3 separate regions of the Homo sapiens genome follow, and all the other regions are linked to region 1. The links are contacts of gene promoters, found by promoter capture Hi-C in blood cells and fetal thymus (Javierre and others, 2016). All regions are on one chromosome and are shown on one strand. Each heading gives the region's core, a stretch centred on a gene start or on the middle of the fragment in contact. The rest is flanking DNA. Distances are from core to core; before and after follow the strand shown.

Region 1 (2,724 bases), core at 87-2,586:
AATCAAAATGATCACATCCAAAACATACAGAACAGGGTCAGCTTCAAAGCGGATGAGAAAACAATTTAAACATGGAGAGTTTATTAAAAAGCCTTGCTCCAAGGGCCCCTGAGCAAGGCTTTCTTCACTGGGCACTTCCTGCAATCCAAGCCTTTCTCTATGGCAGAGAGGAACTAAGTCATTGCCCATGGTCAGTGATAGCATAAATCCTTGGCGGAGATGAGTCCAGGTGTAAGTAAGAACTTTCACCTCCAAACAGTGGGGCCAAGACCACCTTCCCTGAAACCACTGCCCACAGCAATGAGGACTGCCAGGAGTCTGAGCCCCACAGCTCCAGAAGGACCTACTAGGTGATAAGTTGCAAAGCTTGGGCCACAGGTCCTGCCTCTTCCTACAGACACAAGCTAGACACTACCTTGGGGATATGATGGGGTGCTGTGAGGCTCCTTACTGAGCAAATACCTTGCATTACAGGGGAGGCCAAGGCCCAGAAAGGAGTACACCTGCTCAGAGTCAACATAGCTCAGAAGTCCTGCCAGAACAGGAGCCTTGATCTCCTACTGGCCCCTTGATTTCTTTCCCAGTCTTACACAAATGTGTTACGTAATCTACTTATTGTGCAAACCCAAACAAAGTGACATCCCTCCCTGAGCCTGTTTCCTTACCTGCAAAATGGGGAGCCGCATCTGACTTTCCAAGGTGGTTATGCAGGGAGGGAACCTCTAAGCCTCTCATTCCTCTCACTAAGACCCAGCTCTCATCTGGATCCCACACACTACAGATGGATGCTTCACAAATATTTTTCCAGGGAATGTCAGGGGATGCTAAGCATAAGACAAGCCATATTTTAGAGCAGAAACATGGGGAGAGAGGAAAAACGTACACCTTACAGAGCAATCCTTTCACATGAGGACCATCTCAGGGGAGCCTATTAAGCTCGTGTGATATTAACAGCTTGAGTGCCTGAAGGGCACACAGTGAAAGATCAGGGAAGACCAGGATATCACTTTGGAAACACTGCTGGGGTACACAGCTTTTTGGTACAAGTAGTGTCAAAGGAATCCCTGGCTTTGAGATGTAAGGGCTCCAACCTCCCAGAAGTCCTCCCAGGGCAGCCCCAGCGACAGGCACAAAGGTCACACCCATGCAGGAAGAGAGGGAGGAAGGAGAGGAGCTCCATAAGCCCAGACAAGGGCTTGAGAGCAGACAAGGGCTTGAGAGCAGACAAGGGCTTGAGAGCAGACAAGGGCTTGAGAGCTGGCCAAGCAGTTTCTCTCAGCTTCTGTGTTCCAGCCCCTATGTGGGAGGAGAGAAGGGCAGGACCACAAGCCTGCCAGAGGCTGCGGCCTACAGCCGGGGAGAGGCCAGCCCGGCCTACAGTGCGGACACAGGACAGAGGGGAGCCAGGTGAGCCAGGTTTTTGGGCAGGGAGGGACTGGGAGACCCCAGAGGAGAGGGCTGCCCCCATGATGACCCTGTCCGCAGCTCCGAGAGACCCTGAGCAAGGCTTTCTTCACTGGGCACCTCCTGCAAATCAGGCCCTGCACTAAGTGTTAGGGTCACGGCATGACAGTGACAAAGATCCCGGCCCTCTTGCAGTTTCTGTGTTAGTAGCAGGGAGATGGAAGTAAACAAAAACATATGAAATGAGTAAATGATCTCAAATGTCAGAAGGGGATAAGTGAAAAGAGAAAAAGGAGAGCAGAGTGAGGAGGACAGGGAATGCCGGGGGAGGGGGCTTGGGGTTTTAAAGAGGGTGGCCTCTTTAAGGTTAAATGAGGTTCAATGCAAAAAGCCCTAGTGACATTTGAAGAAAGGGTGTTCTGGGCAGATGGAGATGCCCTAGCAAATGCTGGCAGTGGCAGGGAGGCCTGGAGCATTCAGAACAGCAAGGAGGCAGTGGCAGCAGAGCAAGGAAAAGAGGTAAGGCAGGACGAGAGGAGCCGCACTAGGGGCACTTGCAGGACTCCGGGGGGCAGAGGATGGGGCCCCTTGCCAGCACCCCCACAGCCCTGCTGGGGGTATTGGTTTGAAAGCCTCATATGAATCATTTGCTACATGTGGTTGCATGACCCTTATAAAGTCTCCTCCCTTTCCAAGGCCCACATCCTCTCCATAAAATGGTAATAACAGCAGTGCATCTGTCAGGTTGAGGTCAGGAAGGAAGGGGATCAAAAGCATGGCAGCCTGCCGGAGAGATTTACAACATACCTGCTGCAAGCTAGGAAATGCAGAGCTGGCCTCCCAGGCCTTGTGGGAGGAACATGTAAGCAAATAAGAACTTGTCCCTAACCCTAGAGCACCCAGGGAACGAGGGAGCTGAACTTTGTTCAGAGAGAACAGCAGGGGCAAAGGGTAGGAAGAGAATGAGTGGAGGCCAGGGATGAGGGCAGTAAGTTGACATAGGAGAGAGGTGAGTGGAGTAGGGTTGGGTAGACACAGCAAGGACTCCATTCCACAAACAGTGGGCCCCAAGGAGCAGATTCCAAGCAGGAGAGGAAAACAATGTGATTTGCAGTTCAAGAGTTCACCTGGCAGCTGGGAGAACAAATAAGAGGAACACTGAGGCCAAGTAAGAGATAACAGTGGCCTGGATGCTAGCCAAAGAGATAGCAAGGAGCAGATGGACTCAAGAGACTTGTGAAATAGGATGGACTGCACCTCATGGTTGCCTCACTGTGGAGGAATAGGGGCTTCTCAGAGGCCAAGCACTTGCCATGAAGG
Region 2 (2,724 bases), core at 59-2,558, 120 kb after region 1:
CAATGATTCTCCCTTCACACAGCTTGTAGGAACCCTTCCAGGCACAGCCAGCAAGCTCTGAGTGGCAGAAGCAGCTCCTCGCACATCTGGAACAACTGGTTCATTTAAGAAGCAAAAGGAGATACTGGTGTCCCAATTGTTTTTATTGGGCTTGCAAAAGACTTTAGGAGAGACATCTTGGTTCAAAAATAAAAGATAGTATTATGGGGCTACTCAACAAAATTGGGGATTATTTTTATAAGCAGTCTCCAAGATAAATTCTTTTTACATTTTTCAATCAAAACTAGTATCTAATTTACAAAAGTGAAGCAAAGGCTAATAACAGAAAAATATTCAGATAATTAAATACATTACAGAGCAAAACAGAGTCAAATCGTTGCCAGAAAATCAGAAACGCAGTGACTCTTTCACTCCTCCACCTAGGCATCTTACCAGTTGTGCTCTGTGACAAAACTGACCCTATGGACGGGCTCCCTGAGGAGAGAGGCCTGGCAGGACGGGACCCCTGGGCCACGGCGCATTTGTGTTGTTCAGCTAAGCATGTACCAAGACAGGCTCCAATCTGAGAAGCTCTGCATGAAGCTTTTCAGCAAAGACAGCAAGCTGGAGCCCGGGGGTGGCTAGTGGCCCTGAAACCGGTCCATTCCCTGTGAAAGCCGAGCTTGGAAATCTAGCCCCTCAGCTCTCCCAAATGACACTGCTAATTTGCACTCCCACTGATTTCTCTTGAGAAAGCTGCTGCTATCTAACCCCTGAAATTGTTGGGCCAAGGCAGGAAGAGGCACAGCCCGCTCCTCCTGTTGGCGGACAGGAAGGTGGCATGTCACTTTACTCCATCACTAACCTGATGTAGAGGGTGGAGTTGGCGATGACGGGGACGTGAGAGGTGAGCTGGCCCCAGATCCTGCTAAGATAAAACACAGAGAAACCCTCATGGGGACCAACGAAAGACATTTGGAATTTGGCCCAGGCTGGGACCCACTGCTGTCTGAGAATCTACATTTGGCTTAGTGTGTGAGCCTTGTGAAACAAGATGATGAGGGACAAAAAACTCAGAGACCGGACCCAGTGACAGGCTTTTACTCTGGTGCAGGGTCCACCTCCTTCCCCAAGCCACTAAAAGCTCCTTGCCTCCCACTGCTCCCCATGGCCTGCCTGGTTTGAAACTTTGCACCATCAACAGCTTAGGCAATTGGCTGCAGTATCTCTTCCTGACGCAACCTCCACTCCTGGGTAATGACAAATGACAGAAGCCACAAGTGGTACAGCAGACAGAGAGGTGCAGAGCAGCCTGCTGGGGGCTTCCAAAGGAAGGGAGTGCCCCGTACAGCATCCACCCAGTAACGCATTCTGCCGAAGTTCCATTTTATCAGCAGGTAGAATCAACTAGATAGGGTCAGTCTATTCAGTTTATGGATTTCACAGCCCTTTTCTTATCTAGAATAAGTAAATGTCCTTATTCACATTAAAACAATGTGAATCCCACCTGTTGCATGCTTTTTCTGGATCTAGTAACCTTATTATATTTCAAATATTCCCAAGTTCTCAGCATCTCCCCATTACTTGGCGATCCCTAGAAAATATCTTCCTGAGCTGACATGAAGTAGCCCAATGAGCAGAGGTTCCTACGTAAGCCTTTCTGTGGACACAGAAACCCCCCTCCCACACATAGAGATCCTATGGAGAGGTTAACCAAATCTCCCTAGTCAGGTGCTTTCTGGGCTGATGGGCACACACACCCAGAGGGCTGCCATCACACGCCTGAGAAGCCACCAGAGCTGGTGTGGTTAAGGCCCCAGCCATCACTTCCCTCACTACCCACAGGACATGTTGGTGTCTCATGGACACTGGCCATGATGAGAAATGTCCTGATTAAACCACACCTCCCTCCAGTTTAATGCTTTTCTACTTGCAATATTCCCTCAGTTCCCTATAAAATATGAGGGTGTTTTACTGAAAAAGGAGGTAAAACTCAATGCATGCTGTCTTTATACTGTTCGTAGTGCTAATGAACTTTAATGGGGAGAAGCTTCACTGCTTGACTCCAGTAAAGTTTGGGAATTATCTGTATATATCCATCAACTGCTACTTCATTTTCCTAAACTCCTGAGGGCACTGGGGTATCCTGAAGTCCTTGAGTCCTACCTGGCTTCATGTGACACAGCTTTGCAGGCAGGCAGGGTCTTAGAAGGTAGAGAGCACACTGTCAGGCTTTCTCTGCTCTATAAAAAATTAGCTACTGGACAGAATGACTGCTGGTTGGAATCATGAGTCTCAGTATAATAATGACCATGACCGGTCCATGTCCCTCCCATCAACCATGGCGAAGATAGGCTTCCAACTGAAACTACCCACCAGCCACAACAGCATTCACCCCCAAGGAGCCTGCGCTGGTCCTCATTGGGACCACCCCTCCTTCCTCTCCTTTGCAGCTCTTCCTGAGCCCTTCTCCAGTCTGGACTCTGCAGTGGTGTCAATGTGACTCTCACTCTCCTTCTGGAGTTTATGGGCTTTCTCTATTCAGGGCTGCCAATCTCCAGCTCTGGTCATGCCACTTGCATTCTCCAGCTGTGGCTCATGCAGCCCTCTGGGCTGCAGCCTAATCATCTTGTACACTTTTCTCCTCCCGCCCCAGGCAGACATTCTCCTCCCTGACTTCACTGAGAAGACTGAGGCATGACCTGTGAATATCCCCAATTTCCTCCCTTCTAAACATCTCTGCCT
Region 3 (2,724 bases), core at 62-2,561, 110 kb after region 1:
GTTTCAACCTGATCTCTGATCTGTGACCACTCTGTTTTCAGGAACACATATAACTGTGGTTTCCCATTCAAGACCTGTGGGCCACTGCTTAGAAGCTGCAGCAGTGCTATCTAAAGAAGGAGTTGAATGTGAGGTGAGTGGACATTTACTTGTTCTTAAAGAATTAGAAGGGCTCCTTTTAGATTTAAGACCCAGAAGAGTTCTGTAACAGGTTAATTAGATGTAAAACCTTGCTTTGTCACTCATTTCTGTCTCTGCTTAAAGCTGGGAACCTGCCTGCAGTTCACATACTTAGCTTTTTACCACTCAGGTCACTTAGGTTCTGGATCTTTTTTTTTGAGAGACAGTGGGAGCTCTCTGAACCTCTTCTGGTTCTCAGTGATACCCCCCGAGAGAGAAAAAAACAGGCTTTTGTTCTGTTGCCCAGGCTGAAGTGCAGTGGCTGGATCATGGCTCACTGTAACCGTGAACTCCTGGGCCCAAGTGATGCTCCCACCTCACCCTTCTGAGGTTCTGGATCTTTTAGAAACTCACCATGTGCTAGTTATACTTGGGCAAGTTATATACTCTAAATCTGTTTCATCAGCTATAAAACAGGGATAATATAAATACTGTCCCGTCATAGGGCTGTTGTGAGAATTACACTTAGTGTAGTGCTTGGTACATGATGGGCACTCAGCTGTTAACTGTTAACTCATTTTGATGAGGGAATTTAAAGTGAAGGAGGATTGGCTGGGCGTGGTGGATCACCTGAGGTCAGGAGTTCAAGACCAGTCTGGCCAACATGTTGAAACCCCATCTCTACTAAAAATACAAAAATTAGCTAGGCGTGGTGGTCTATGCCTGTAATCCCAGCTACTCCAGAGGCTGAGGCAGGAAAATGGCTTGAACTGGGAAGGCGGGGGTGGCAGTGAGCCGAGATCACGCCACTGCACTCCAGCCTGGACAACAAGAGCAAAACTCCATCCCAAAAGAAATAAAAAAGTGAAGGAAGATAAATGAATCCTATAACTGCACAGAGCTGCTTGTGGTAGACATACAGATCTTTGTTTTAATTAAAATTTTTCCTTTTACAGTTTGTACATTCATGAATAGGTATTCATAGGCAGATTAGATTTTCCTAGATACAAAGATTAACAGGAAACAAAAAAGGAAATGGTATTATGGGGATAAGGCTCTATTTGTGCTGCAATAGCTCTGTAAACTTGATTATATTACCTGTTTAGGTGATAAATATGCGTACCATTAGACCAATGGACATGGAAACCATAGAAGCCAGTGTCATGAAGACAAATCATCTTGTAACTGTGGAAGGAGGCTGGCCACAGTTTGGAGTAGGAGCTGAAATCTGTGCCAGGATCATGGAAGGTATTTCAAAGAAACTGGTTCTAGAATACAGTCAAGCTATAGTAAACATCATGTACCTGAATACGTACAGGATAAAGAGATTGAAAGCTAGGAGTGGCCAAACGACTTCAACTTTAAACTTGTAAGTTTGGCATTTCTCTTCAGGCAGATATTTTTAAAAGCAAATCCAGAAAGCGGTTCCCCATAATTAGCATTCCTTACATTTTCTCTTCCTGGTCAGCCACACCTCTGTGCCAAGGTGGTAGTGCCCAGCTGGCATTTGCACTCTCTCAGTTGAGCCTTCCTTCTCCTAGGTCCTGCGTTCAATTTCCTGGATGCTCCTGCTGTTCGTGTCACTGGTGCTGATGTCCCTATGCCTTATGCAAAGATTCTAGAGGACAACTCTATACCTCAGGTCAAAGACATCATATTTGCAATAAAGAAAACATTAAATATTTAGTTTGGACTTGAATATCAAGTCGTTGAAATTTATTTGAAATACTTGCTGGCACTGCACCTGGATTTGTACTGCAAGACCTGACTATTCATAACGGAAAACGATTTCTAAAGCAACAGCAGGTATTTTTGTACAGGGAAGTTTAAATGTGTTTGTGTATGGAAAACTCTCCACTCTCCTCCCCTAGATGCCATGCTTCCTTTTGTCTGTTACGGTTGCCATGTTCTTTGAATAACAAATTATATAACATTTTATCCTCTCTCACCACAAGGACAAAGTATGGATGTGGCAGAGTCCTCATGAAAGATGTATCCAAACAAGATAACTTATATGTATAAAATTAAAGCATATAATATACATTTACTGTTAGTTTGTTTTGATAAGGAATAAAGGAATTTCTAACATGACTAATTTTTTTTTTTTTGAGACAATGTTTGGCTCTGTTCCCCAAGCTGGAGTGTGATGGCACAATCTTGGCTCACTGCAGCCTCCACCTCCCAGGTTCAAGTGATTCTCCTGCCTCAGCCTCAGTAGGAAATTAGCCACCACATCCGGCTAATTTTGGTGTTTTTAGTAGAGGTGGGGTTTCACCATGTTGGCCAGGCTGGTCTTGAACACCTGACCTCAGGTGATCCACCTGCCTTGGCCCTCCCAAACTGCTGGGATTACAGGCATGAGCCACCACACCTGGCCATGACTATTGTATTTTTATATTGAAAGAATTGGCTGGGCTGGGCGTGGTGGCTCATGCCTGTAATCCCAGTACTTTGGGAGGCCAAGGCGGGCAGAACATGATGTCAGGAGATCAAGACCATCCTGGCTAACATGGTGAAACCCTGTCTACTAAAGCCGGGCATGGTGGCATGCGCCTGTAGACCCAGCTGCTCGGGAGGCTGAGGCAGGATAATTGCTTGAACCCA

Evidence for each region. The method cuts DNA at HindIII sites, captures the fragments that hold promoters and counts their contacts. A CHiCAGO score of 5 or more calls a contact.
Region 2: a contact is called between a fragment that was not itself captured here and the fragment with the promoter of ACOX2 in region 1, in 3 of 17 cell types (M0 macrophages, M2 macrophages and monocytes). The highest score is 7.0, in M0 macrophages.
Region 3: a contact is called between a fragment that was not itself captured here and the fragment with the promoter of ACOX2 in region 1, in 6 of 17 cell types (M2 macrophages, M0 macrophages, monocytes and 3 more). The highest score is 9.8, in M2 macrophages.

Annotation. Positions count from the first base shown.
Region 1 is chr3:58,535,802-58,538,525 of GRCh38, reverse strand. ACOX2 (acyl-CoA oxidase 2) reads left to right here and starts at 1,336. Exons shown (of 15, transcript NM_003500.4): 1 at 1,336-1,407. It overlaps LOC107984079 (a long non-coding RNA gene), which reads right to left. Exons shown (of 3, transcript XR_001740724.2): 1 at 2,212-2,724. The HindIII fragment of the contact is 2,666 bases long and covers 369-2,724 here.
Region 2 is chr3:58,411,084-58,413,807 of GRCh38, reverse strand. It overlaps PXK (PX domain containing serine/threonine kinase like), which reads right to left. Exons shown (of 18, transcript NM_017771.5): 17 at 845-907. Among named protein-coding and RNA genes, the nearest start is that of PDHB, 21 kb to the left of the region's middle. The HindIII fragment of the contact is 1,447 bases long and covers 585-2,031 here.
Region 3 is chr3:58,427,117-58,429,840 of GRCh38, reverse strand. It overlaps PDHB (pyruvate dehydrogenase E1 subunit beta), which reads left to right. Exons shown (of 10, transcript NM_000925.4): 8 at 42-133; 9 at 1,227-1,368; 10 at 1,662-2,211. The coding sequence ends at 1,807. Among named protein-coding and RNA genes, the nearest start is that of PDHB, 5.4 kb to the left of the region's middle. RefSeq lists an enhancer at 236-315. The HindIII fragment of the contact is 7,139 bases long and covers 1-2,724 here.